Linked DNA regions of Homo sapiens: region 2 is linked to region 1. Evidence: promoter capture Hi-C in 16 types of primary human blood cells and fetal thymus (Javierre and others, 2016). All regions are on one chromosome and are shown on one strand. The core of a region is centred on a gene start or on the middle of the fragment in contact, and the rest is flanking DNA. Distances in the headings are between cores, read along the strand shown.

Region 1 (6,188 bases), core at 3,056-5,555:
CTAAGCATCCACTTCCTTCATTTTAAGAGTATTATTCAAATGGTCACACAGGACTCATTCAGGCACACAGTTTGGTTTCTAGGTGGCAGTTTATACAAGATGGGTTATGTCTGCTCAAAAAAGTGGTGAAATAGACTAAACACCTAAGAACTATTATATCAGGATAGTGGGTTATGGGCAGTTTTGTTCTTTTAATCAATTCCTTGGGTCTCCTTTTCACTGTAATGTAGACACATCATTTTTAAAGATGATAATTTAAAAGATAAATTAATCTATAACTTTCGAAAGATTTTAAAAGGAGAGATTATTGTACCTCAGAAACTTCTTGCATTCCTTAATAACTGCTTATAGAGCCTCAGTATGTATAATTTATATCACTGACTAAAAAGTTCTAATTTTTGAAAACTGACCTGAGATGACAGTCCCTTTATTGTTTAGGTGGCCCTCCCCTGGACCTTTCTTGGCTCCATTCATGTTTCTCCAGGCACACCGACCACAGCCATCCATCTGGGGCCACATTTTCAAGTCACAAAAATGGCAATTTTATAACAAGGGAAAGTAACATTTTATTGGCAGTACTCCTCCACTTCCCACACTCCCTGCCCTCATCTTTAAGAATTGCCTATAATTATCCCCAGACAGATATGATCCTTCACCTGAATCATATTTGCTGAGTCAGCAATAGGCATATAATTCCTTTTCTCCCTAAATGATTTACACATTTACACTGAAGTCTGTCACTTTAATACACCAAATCTCTCAAACAATAAAGCTCCTGGTAAGAAGAAAACTTGTCCACTGCTATATCCCCAACACCTAGAACAAGTTCCTGACACATAGCAGGTGCTTAATAAATGGTGTTAAATGAGCAAATGGAAACTTGGTTTTCCATTTCCTTCAGCTCAACAGATAAAACAGCAATTAAGTGCATTTCTTGAAGGATATCATAGGGAAATCTCCACCACCAGTGAAGTTTAAACACATATTTTTTGTTAGGGATAAAGTAAGAAATATTTCTGCACTGGGGAGCAGGCTAACCCAAATGACCTCTAACGTTCCTTTCAACTCCTAGAGTTTTTAAACTGATGAACACCACAGCTTAGGAGAGGCCATCAGCTACATAAAGCCTGATTCCCAAGTAGAGTAAATTGCCATGTTCTGTTTAAAATAAAGATAATAGCTGCCCCGGGATTTGGACGCAAAAATGCTAATTCATCCAAAATGCAGACACATCCCTTGGGAGTAAAATGTTCTTGCTAATCATCAGTTATACTAGGCAAACAGCAGATGTGCTTCAGGGTCTTCTTAGGGCTAAGCCCAAAAACCATCAGTGGGGAAATGGAGAAGCTAGGGATCAAAATTAAAACTGAAATAAACAGTATCACACTAAATTGAAGCTTTGTTTTGCAGTCAACAACAAATCCACTTAAGAAACTTACCTGAATTTAGCCTTGAGGTTTGAATGGTTTGTAACAGAATATAACCATTTCATAAGATAGAAAATAGTGCATTTGACATGTAAGCATTTTTGCCCACTAAAATGTCATATTTACCTGGGATATCACACTCAGATGTTCCCATTCAAGAATATCAAAAATTTAGGGTAAGTTATTCAGATTGCATTTTTCTTCAGTCTGGCGGGGAGAGGTAGTTATCGCAAAAGGAGATATATGTCCTAAATAACTTTTTAAAAAATCTAATTAAATACCTAGGGAAATTCCATTCACACATAAATCAACTTCGGAGTGGTTCTTTTCCCTCAGCGCACCCTTCCTTTCTTTTGGTGAAATCACAGACTAGATAAGAAATGGGAGGGCCAGAGAACTCTTAACTTTAAAGGTGCAGTGTAGATTCCATGGAGCTGTGTCTCAAGAGTCTTCCCCATTCATTGACTTTGTTTTAAAGCCATAACTGCAGAGACCACACTTAAGACAATAGCCCAATGAACAAAGTGAAAGGATTCAACAATTATCTGTGAAATGTGATCACATATTTTCTGTAGACTTTCTAACTTTATAGTCAATTCCTAATCACTCGTACATTAGGTTTCCAAAAGAAAAGTCTTCTGTCTTTAGATTGTAATTTAATTTTAATTCCAGTGACAACAGAGTGCGCAGAAAGAAGTCACTTCCTCTGTGCACGTATACTTAAAAAAAATCTCCTCTATTATCTGAAGAGGGAGGTCTAACATAAGAATTCTGTGGGATTAAGCTCACATATGGTTGGCCGACTTGGTGTTGGATGTGATTACGGCCACACAACTAAACCTTAAATCCACATACTGTTCCTATTTAACTGACATATATGAACTAATTTATAGAAAATGTGCAGCTAATTATTTCTTCCACCTCCTCCATCCCTCAAGAATGCACCAGCAATAATACGTGTTACTGAAAAAGCCAAACACCCCCACTGAATATTTGCAATCCTAAACGTTTGCCAATTTATCTAAAGCAGATATTGTTATTTTAGTTCTCTGAATCTATGCCTGCTAATAAGTATAATGGGGGGCAGGGGGAGGAGTAATTTAACCAGATAAATTTCACCTCTATAGACCTCAATTTTCTCACCAAAAATAAAACGACTAGCCCAGAGACTATGCAAATTCCCTCAGTAACAATAACCTACATGTGACCACTAATTATCAAGAGCACAATTTATGTGCAAAAGAAGACCAGAATTCTTAAAAGAGCCATGTCATTAAATCGTAGAGTTGAAAAGGCCTAAAAGACAGTCATGATTCGATATGACCGCTGTGTTTTCTGACTGCAGAAAACGTCTTTGAAAGCACCGCGGGCAGCCGAACCACCAAATCGAATTAGAATCCGCAAAGGGACCCATGAACTTCTCCCGAGGGGGTAGGGTGCAAAAGGCGCGCGTATCTGGGGAGGAGTTAGGCGGGGAGAGGGGGAAGAGCCGGGAGCCTGAGAGCACAGCCTTGCATTTCTGGGATTTCCGAGCTTCCAGTATCTCAGTAAGTCTTTCGTCTGTAACTACAAAATCTCCCGAGCCACCACCTGCAGCTGCACAGCTGTGGGAAAGGGAAGAAGAAAAAGGGAAGAGGAGGTGATAGACAGGGAAAGACATCGCCCGAGGCGCCCCCAAAGCCAGTAAGGCGAGTGGACTGTGAACATCGACGATGAAAAGGGGAAAGGGAAAACAGGAGGACTCCGCCTTTCCCACCCAGCTCCGCTCCTTTCAAAAAAAAGGAAAGGCCGCCGCCGCCCCTTCCTCCGCCTTTCACTTGGGGATGCGGAGCGGCCACTGAACCGCACCCTCGGAGTCCCGCTCCCCTCCGGCCCGGCCCCGGGGCGCGGACCGAGTCTTGCAACCCAGTAGGCGCGGCGCCTTGGCCCACACACTCGGGGCAAAGGTATCTCCTCCCTCCTACTCTCCTCCCTCCCGCCGTGGGGCACTCGATTCTTCACGCACCCGCCCGCCCTTCCTCTTCCTCGCGTCCCAGCCTCCTCAGCCCGCCGCCCCCGGCCTTTCAGCCGCAGAACATTTCAGTCCTTCCACCCACACCACAAGGGAGCCTCCAGAAAACTTTGTGTGTGTTATCTGGGGCTTTGTCCACATCCTGGGCAGGGCCCGCTCAGCCGGGTGGATGCCCGAGGGTGTCCGGGATCTCACAATGCGCTGGGGAGGCCACCACGGAAATCCCACCCCTCTGACCTGCTTCTACAGCAGTGCCACACGCAGCACTTCAGCTCGCAATTCCCATGCCCTGAGCGCCCCCTCGGCGCGGGGGAGACTGGAGGAAAGCCCCGAACCCGGCGCCCTTCTGGCTGTCACGAGGGAAGAGGTGCGCGGGCAGAGGGAGGCGGCTGAGACACGCCGCGCCTCAAAGAATTATTTTAAAGGGAACAGGAGAGGGGTCCTTTTTCTTTCGCATTCCCAGAAGAGGGGCGCGACGAGGCGATCCACTGTTGCATCACGTAACTGAGCCCCTGGGCTCCTAACCCCGACCCCAGACGCGCGCCCAAATTCGTGCACACACCCACAGCCGTCGCCGCCGCCGCGGGGCCGAGCACCCGCCCGGCTCCCCTGTGGTCCTCACCGCACCCGCCCCAGAGCAGAGACCACCCGGCGCCCGAGGAGCAGCAGGCGAGGCCCCAGCACTCACAGACGGTCTCCCCACGGCCACGGCCATCGCAGCTGCGGCACCGGCTCCGGCTGCGCCCGGGTGCTTTACGCCGACTCCGGCTGCTGCTAGTGCTCGGGCTCCGGCTCGCCTCCCTCGCGCCTCCCTCGCGGCTGCGCTCTGCTCGCCGGCGTCCCGCTGGCAGCCAGCGGCATCTGCTCCCCCCACGCCGCCGCCCCTCCCGCTTTATTAGAGCAACATGGCCACCCGCCTGGAAGGGACCATTCGCTTCCCCAGGAAGGGGTGTGAGCCTGCGCGCCCGGCCGCGGTGGTGGGCGGGAGGATGGTGGGCGGGCTCCGAGCCCAGCTCCACTGGCCCCGGCCGCGGGGCTCGCCCCTCCGTCCCCAAACGACCGTCTCCGCTGCCATGAGATGCCGACAGCCTGTGCGCTGGCCGCCACCCCCTGCTCCATCAGGTGCTGGAATCTGAGTAAAAGCCTGGGCGCGAGCTCCCAGCCCCGGGGCCTGCCACCGGCTCCACGAAGCGGGCAGCTCCAGCGGCCGCCGGGAGAAGGAAGGGCGACCGGGGGAGACGGGTCGCAGGGACAGCACGTGGCGGAAAGTTAGCCCCGGACTAGCACGCCCCACCCGGAGAAGCCGGCCTGGAAGGGGCTGCGGACCACCAGGCGGAGCGGTGGGCGACCGAAGTGCGGCTGGGCTGGCCTCCTCGTCTCCGCACTGGAAGAATTGCCCTTCCGCAAGTCTTCCCTTCCCACATGGGGGCCCTCCAGGCCGCACCTCGGTCGCCCACCGCTTCCCTTGAGAAGGGAGACTAAAGACAGGCATCTGGAAGCTGTCACTGTGGCGCGCGGGCAGACAGGGGATCCCATTGGAGAGGAAGAGCCGTAGTAGTCGCTGCTGCCTTCGGCCGACCCAACGGCCGCCTGCTTGGGAGGAAGAAAAAGAACGCCCCCGCTGAAGAATTAAGGCAGCCATTGGTTGCTCTAGGGGTAAGGACCGAGGCCTCCCCTGGGTGTCACTGGAGCAGCCACACGTGGGGGATCAGCCGACTTCATTCGATCGCTGGCGACAGACCCGGCGACCCGTAGGAATGCGCGCTGGGGCTGCGGCTGGAGGGCGTGGCGACGGCAACAGGCGGGTGGCTCGAGTGGGTGCGACTCTGGGCGCGTGGGACTGAGAACTCCTCCGCCGTGGGGAAGATTTTTTTCCCAGCAGATGTTGGGGTGTTACTGCGTGTCTGAGGGGCCGGCGGAATGGAGGGGTCCCGGTGCGTGCAGGGCAGCGAGGTGTGTCAGATGAGCTGTGGATCCCTGCGGCCCCACGTGGGCCGGAGAGGGGGGCCCACGACAACAAGCGATTGAGGACAGCGATGGACAGGGCGGGGAACCAGCTGGGTGGAAGCACAGGGAGTGTGGTGAGGAGGGAAGGGCTGTGATCTGCCCTCGGTACGACGCCCCAAGGGACAGCCTGGCCTCCTGAATTAGGGAAAAGACAACCGGTCTCTTTAGACGGGCGCCTCAGAGTCTGACCTGAGTCTTCAAACGCCCAGATCCCCTGGGGCCTTGAGTCTCCCTGTCCCGCTGGCCCTGCCTCGCCTGCGCTTCAGGACTCCGACGCCCCCGCAGCCTTGGGCTAAGGGTCAGTCGTCCCCGGGCGCGGGTCCGGCTGCCCTGGAACTGATGCTGGATTTCGCTGGTAGGTGGGCTAGGGGCTTGGTCACCCCGTCTGAATTCCACTGTCAGGACAGCTGTGGAACCGCCAGAGAAAAGTCTGGCCATGAAAGAAAGGTGAGGGGCGCCGACGCAGAGCTTATTTATTCAGTCTGTGGGCGGACTCAGACGTGCAGAGCACCAACCTCTTCAATTTCTGCCCTCTAGACTCCAAATCTTTTGAAATTAGGGACCACCATTTTATGCCAAACATACAGTAGGCGCTCAATAAGTGTTGAATTAAGATTACACATAAATGGGCCGGGCGCGGTGGCTCACGCCTGTAATCCCAGCACCTTGGGAGGCTGAGGTGGGCCAACATGGTGAAACCTTGGCTCTAAAAAAATGCAAAAATTAGCCAGGCATGGTGGCGC
Region 2 (6,583 bases), core at 748-3,247, 520 kb after region 1:
GAATGCAATCAGACTCCTCCCCAAGAAGAGAAAGGCAACTCTATTGTCTCAAGGTGCTGACAGTGGAAAGAAAGGTTGGGATTCTAACTGAGAACAGCATAGGACTCAGGCTTTCTAATAGAGGACTTCTTTTATGCCCCATTCATCATCTTTCTAGGGAACCACTTCTTCCTCGATCCTGTGGTGCTGGTGGGCTGCCCCTGTCCCCGGCTCCAGGGTGGACGTAATGACCCAGGAATCAACCAACCCCTGGCTCAAATGATTGATATGTGGATGGGCATGAGACTTAAGTGTGACCAATGTTATAACTAGAAATTTTACTAGTGCTGTCAAAAAATGGCATTTTCTCCTATGGTTTGCTAGGTTGGTAGATAAAATTTTTGAGTTGCTGGAAGTCTTTTTTTATTTTTTATTTTTTTTTTAATTGAGACAGAGTCTAGCTTTGTCGCCCAGGCTGGAATGCAGGGTGTGATGGCGGCCTACTGTAGCCTCAATCTCCCAGGCTCAAGCAGTGCTCCCACCTCAGCCTCGCAAGTAGCTGAGACTACAGGTGCATGTCACCATGCCTGGCCAGTTTTAAAAATTGTTTTGTACAGACAGGGTCTCACTCTGTTGCCCAGGCTGATCTCAAACTCCTGGGCTCAAGTGATCCTTCCGCCTCAGCCTCCCAATGTGCTGAGATTACAAGTGTGAGCTGCCACGCCCCAGCTGGAAGTCATCTTTGATATCACACGCCTGAGAAGGAAACCAGCTCTGAGAAAAGCAGTCTATGATAAGGGGGAGACAGTTCTGGTGATACCATTGAGCCTTGTGCCCAATTGTACCTTACTGAAGCTGGCAATTCTCAAGCTTTTTGGTTTCAGGAACCCTTACATGCTTAAAAATTATTGAAGACTCCAGATAAATTTTATGTGTTTTGTATTGATCAATATTTACTATATTAGAAAATAGAAAAGAACATTTTAAAATACTTATGTATTAATTCATTTAAAAATAATAAATCTTTATATGTTAAAGTAACATATTAATATTTTTATGAAAAATAATTACATTGTCTCAAACAAAAAATATTACCAAGAAGAGTGGCACTGTTTCACATATTTGCAACTCTCTTTAATGGCCAGGTTAGTAGAAGATGGTTGGATTCTACCATCTGCTTCTGTATTCAATTTGTTCAATATCACATGGCATATAGCCACTGGAAGATTCCCCTATACATTTTTGAGAGAGCAAGTGGAAAAGGTACACAATGTCTTAGTATTATTACAAAAGCAGTTTTGACCCTGAAGACCCTTAACTTTCCAAGTTCCTATGGGATCATAAAACTGGTAATTGTAGGAGTGGGGTGGCTTTAGGCCACCATAAGCAGATGCAGCCAGGCCTAAAGCCACCCCACTCCTACAATTACCAGTTTTATGACCCCATAGGTACCTGTTTATTTTTTCCTTAAACCAGCGGGGGTTGAGTTTCTGCTTCTTGCAACTGAAAGAGTTCAGAGTAATACACAAGGAAACCCCTTCGTGGTTTTTCCTGGTTTGGGAGAAAGTTTAGAGAAGCTTAGCACAGTACCAAAAATGAAGCTTCACATTGTGTTTTTCTGTCTATTACTTCTCTCCTTCCTTCTGCCTCTAACTTAGAATTACTCCTGCTTTCTTGATCAGATTCTTCCCTTCATGACAAATAGATCCAATGTAGCTTACAACTTTATTTTCTGTCTCTATACGAAAAATTCCCACTGTGAGTTATTGAGCTCATATTGCTGTCATTGTGAATATGGCCCCAGAACAGAAAAATATATCAGTCATATTGACTCTACCACTTGTTTAGCATCCCTACACCAAACAGTCTGTTAAATGTCATCTTCCTAATCACTGTTTTGACTTTTTAGCAATCACACATCATTGTATTTGTTAACAGCACTGAAGGAAAAATTAAGTTGATCTTTTGAAAATTCCCATTTCTTGATTTTAATTTTTCTTAGTATGCCCTAATGTTTTTCTCTTTATTTTTTGCTAAAACTTTTAATGTGATTGTCAACTTATTGGATTTTTAAAAATGCTTCTAGATGGAATATTTAAGAGATTGAAAAGTCAGTAGGTTATCTCTGAAAATGAAATCAGAGCGACATCTACTGGCTATTCTGGCTCACTAATCGGTAAAGTAAATTAACTGTAGACAATAAATAGGGTTTTTTTTTTTTTTGAGACAGAGTCTCACTTTGTCACCCAGGCTGGAGTGCAATGGCGATCTCGGCTCGGCTCACTGCAACCTCTGCCTCCCGGGTTCAAGTGATTCTCCTGTCACAGCCTCTCGAGTAGCTGGGATTACAGGCACACACTGCCACACCTGACTACTTTTTTTTTGTATTTTAGTAGAGACGGGGTTTCACCCAGTCTGGCAATTCTCAAGCTTTTTGATTGAGACCAGACCAGGCTGGTCTTGACCTCCTCAGCTCAGGCAATCCACCCGCCTCGGCCTCCCAAAGTGCTAGGATTACAGGCGTGAGCCACCGCGCCCGGCCTAATAAATTGTTAAATTATAAGTTGGAAGTTTATTTAGTCTTTCTTAGAAGGCCTCAGAACAATCCTAAATAGACAAAAATCAATCTTATTTTAAAGTTTGTGCAATCTCTCTAGGCAGCCTTTCACAGGCAAAAAGAATCATGTCTTCATGTGTCTCCTTAAGATTGGGGATCAAAGCATGATGTCAGCTGATTTAAAACAAAACAAAACGAAAAAACACCGGGCACGGTGGTTCACACTTGTAATCTCAGCACTTTGGGAGGCTGAAGTGGGTGACTCCTGAAGTCAGGAGTTTGAGACCAGCCTGGCCAACATGGTGAAAACCTGTCTCTACTAAAAATACAAAAAATATTAGCCGGGTGGGGTGGTGCATGCCTGTAGTCCCAGCTACTCGAGAGGCTGAAGCAGAAGAATCGCTTGAACCTGGGAGGCAGAGGTTGCAGTGAGGGAGATGGCGCCACTGCACTCAAGCCTGGGTGACAGAGTGAGACTCTGTCTCAAAGAAAAAAGAAAAGAAAAGAAAAGAAAGATTGAGGAAAACTTTCCCAGCTGATCTTCCCTCATTTCTCAATGCCATGAAGTAGATCAAATGCTTCCTCTGAAAACAGTCACTTGGAAGAGGAATGAAAGCACAAAGATTAGATTTAAACTAATCAAGATCTACCTACTAGAACTTCCCCTGAAGCACAGGGCTCTGTAGAATGTTGTGTTCAACACTGGGGTTCTTGAGAAAGGAGGAAGTGGGGATAGATGCTGAATATGCAATTTACAGCATTTGCTTCACCAAATATCATAAGTTGGTGGCAGAACTATCAAAACACAATCAACTCAAATTATTTGGGAATGATCTAAATGCTCCATGTCTTGCTTGAAGCAGTAGTTTCACAGGTGCATATATGTATGCCGAAACTCATCACATGGTACACTTTAAATGTATACAGTTTATTGAATGGAAATTATAGCTCAATAAAATTAGTTTTTAAACAACTGAAGGACTTCATGGACAAATGAATAGGTAGCCCAAATGTAGAATATACATGCAATGAAATACTTTCCAGACTTAAAAATGAATGAAATCTGTGATCTAAATCCTTTTTTATTTAAAAAAATGAATGAAATTCTGATATATGCTGCAACATAGATGAACCCTGAAGACACTATGTTAAATAAGCCAGACACAAAAGGACAAATATTGTATGATTCCATTTATATGAGATACCTAGAGTAGTCAAACTGACAGAAAGCGAAAGTAGTATGGTGCTTTCAGGGGATGAGAGACGAGGGAATAAGGAGTTACTGTTTAATGGGTACAGAGCTTCAGTCTGGAAAAATGAAAAAGTTCTGGAGATGGATGGTGGTAATGGTTACATAACAATATGCCTATGTGAATGCCATGGAATTGTACGATTGAAAATAGTTAAAAAGATAAATTTTATCCTATGTATATTTTACCACAGTAAGTTTAAAAAGTGCTTATAAAAGGTAAAGAAATGTAAAACATGACACTATGATTAATTAGATCATTATTCATCACTTAATCATGGTAAGCATGGTTGTAGTGAAAAGTCAGAAAACTGCCAGATGCATAAAGATCCAAATAATAATAATATCTGATGGCACATACTTGATATTAGATCCCTGACAGAAGTCACAACTGTTATAGAAGTCACTGTAGTAGATTATTATTTAAAAACTGCTAGAATTATATCCGCAAACTTACACTATTTCTTCCTAAATAGAAGTAAAAGATCTTAATAAGAATACGGTGGCGGGCGCCTGTAATCCCAGCTACTTCAGGAGGCTGAGGCAGGAGAATCACTTGAACCTGGGAGGCGGAGGTTGCAGTGAGCCAAAATGGTGCCATTGCACTCCAGCCTGGGTGACAAGAGTGAAACTCTGTCAAAAAAAAGAAAGAAAGAATATATCTCAGCAAAAACAATGGTACTGAGATCTTAAACAAAAGATGGTTATGATAAAGGATTAGTTGGCTTCAAAGATGCTAATGACAATGATCTCAAAGGCAGAAACAAGGCCTAGAGGAGAACAGGCAATCTCCCTTTATTAGCTATCTGACTTCCATCTGTTACTTCTATCCCCTTTTTTCATCAGTCTGTAAAAGAGTTTGTCAATCAAAAAAAAAAAAAGACTTGTATTTGTAAAAACCCATATCAGTGTTGCGGGAGAGAACGACTGCCAAGGAACACAAGGAACTTTCTGGGGAGACAGAAATCTTGACCGAAGTGTTTCGTTACTGGGTATACACATTTCTCAAAACTCACCACTTAAAAGCACACTTAAATTCTCTCTCAGGCTGGGATATCATCTTCTCCTGCCCTGGGACAGGGCCTTTAAATTTAGACTAAATTACAACACCAGCTTTCCTGGGTCATCAGCTTGTAGAGGGCATGTCATGGAATTTAGCCTCCAAAATTGTGTGAGCCAATTCCTATAATAAATCCCCCTTCCCCATCTCTCTGTCTCTGTCTCTCTCTCTGTGTCTTTTTCTCTCTCTCCCCACTCTGTAATAAATACCCTCACCTCTGTCTCTCTCTCACTCAATTTATATATACATAAAATTGAGGGTTTTTCAGACCTTTGAAAGAAACAAACTACAGATTCAAAAAGCCCAATGAATTATAGACAGGACAGTAAAAATAATTACACACTAATACAACACAAAGAAAGAACTTACATATGTTTTCTTGCTTTATTCATCTGTTTATTTTTTGGTTGTTTACTCATTGATTTTCTTGTTATAAAACATGTACTTTGTTTGCTATTGAAGGTTTCCATCATGTTTATACCTCTGCTAATGTTATCTTTATTTAAGCATTCCAAAACAATCTGTGAATCAAAATTTATATGCTGCCAATTTGAATATTTTCCCTTCATAGAAAATAAATGGTTTATCTTACACTACTTCCATTTTCTAAGCCCATATCTAAAAAGGCATTTGGTGGTTTTATCTAGGATTGTAAACTATACCATTGTGATAACAATATAAATGATTTAATTAAAGATTGTTATTATTTATTTATTTTGAGACAGAGTCTCACTCTGACACCCAAGCTGGAGTGCAGTGGCGCAATTTTGGCTCACTGCAACCTCCACCTACTGGGTTCAAGCGATTCTCCTGCCTGAGTAACTGGGATTACAGGCACACGCCACCACGCCCAGCTTATTTTTTGTATTTTTGGTAGAGGTGGGGTTTCACCATGTTGGCCAGGCTGGTCTCGAACTCCTGACCTCAAGTGATCCACCTGCCTCAGCCTCCCAAAGTGCTGGGATTACAGGCGTGAGCCACTGCGCCCAGCCTGTTATTCTTCTTTTAAATTTTTATTTTTAAAAGAAAATAGAGACAGAGTCTCTCTATGTTGCCTGAGCTGGTCTCAAACTCCTAGCCTCAAGCAATCCTCCCGCTTCAGACTCCCAAAGTGTTGGGATTACAGGTGTGAGCCACTAGACCCGGCCAAGATTGTTGATCTTTAGCATTCTATTAAATATTTTGTCATCATATCGACAAGAAAAAAACTTTGATTTTTATGACTTCCACACACAAAAAGCACACTTAAAATGAATGAATTGGCCGGGCACAGTGGCTCATGCCTGTAATCCCAGCACTTCGGGAGGCTGAGGCGGGCAGATCACGAGGTCAGGAGATTGAGACCATCCTGGCTAATATGGGGAAACCCTGTCTCTAATAAAAGTAAAAAAAAAAAAAATTAGCCGGGCATGGTGGCGGGCACCTGTAGTCCCAGCTACTCGGGAAACTGAGGCAGGAGAATGGCATGAACCCGGGAGGCGGAGCTTGCAGTGAGCCAAGATCGCGCCACTGCACTCCAGCCTGGGCAACAGAGCGAGACTCAGTCTCAAAAAAAAAAATTGTATTGGAAATGAAGTATAACTCAAAAAAGTTGATTTTTAAAACCTCAATCAGCTCCAAATAATACAAACATTTCTACTCTTTAAATTAAGATGGCATATGAAAAGTTTCCTTTTAAAACTAATTCAAAAGTAGTCCCAAATTAGAAATTACTTACCCTGCCAAGATGTGTTCCCAG

The links. The method cuts DNA at HindIII sites, captures the fragments that hold promoters and counts their contacts. A CHiCAGO score of 5 or more calls a contact.
Region 2: a contact is called between a fragment that was not itself captured here and the fragment with the promoter of SEPTIN11 in region 1, in 2 of 17 cell types (erythroblasts and endothelial precursors). The highest score is 5.8, in erythroblasts.

What each region holds. Positions count from the first base shown.
Region 1 is chr4:76,947,869-76,954,056 of GRCh38, reverse strand. It overlaps SEPTIN11 (septin 11), which reads right to left and starts at 4,305. Exons shown (of 10, transcript NM_018243.4): 1 at 4,127-4,305. The coding sequence starts at 4,153. It overlaps LOC105377294 (a long non-coding RNA gene), which reads left to right and starts at 4,492. Exons shown (of 3, transcript XR_001741739.2): 1 at 4,492-5,094. RefSeq lists silencers at 4,011-4,320, 4,351-4,530 and an enhancer at 5,441-5,520. The HindIII fragment of the contact is 7,046 bases long and covers 1,400-6,188 here.
Region 2 is chr4:76,426,514-76,433,096 of GRCh38, reverse strand. No RefSeq gene overlaps it. Among named protein-coding and RNA genes, the nearest start is that of SHROOM3, 5.4 kb to the left of the region's middle. The HindIII fragment of the contact is 829 bases long and covers 1,583-2,411 here.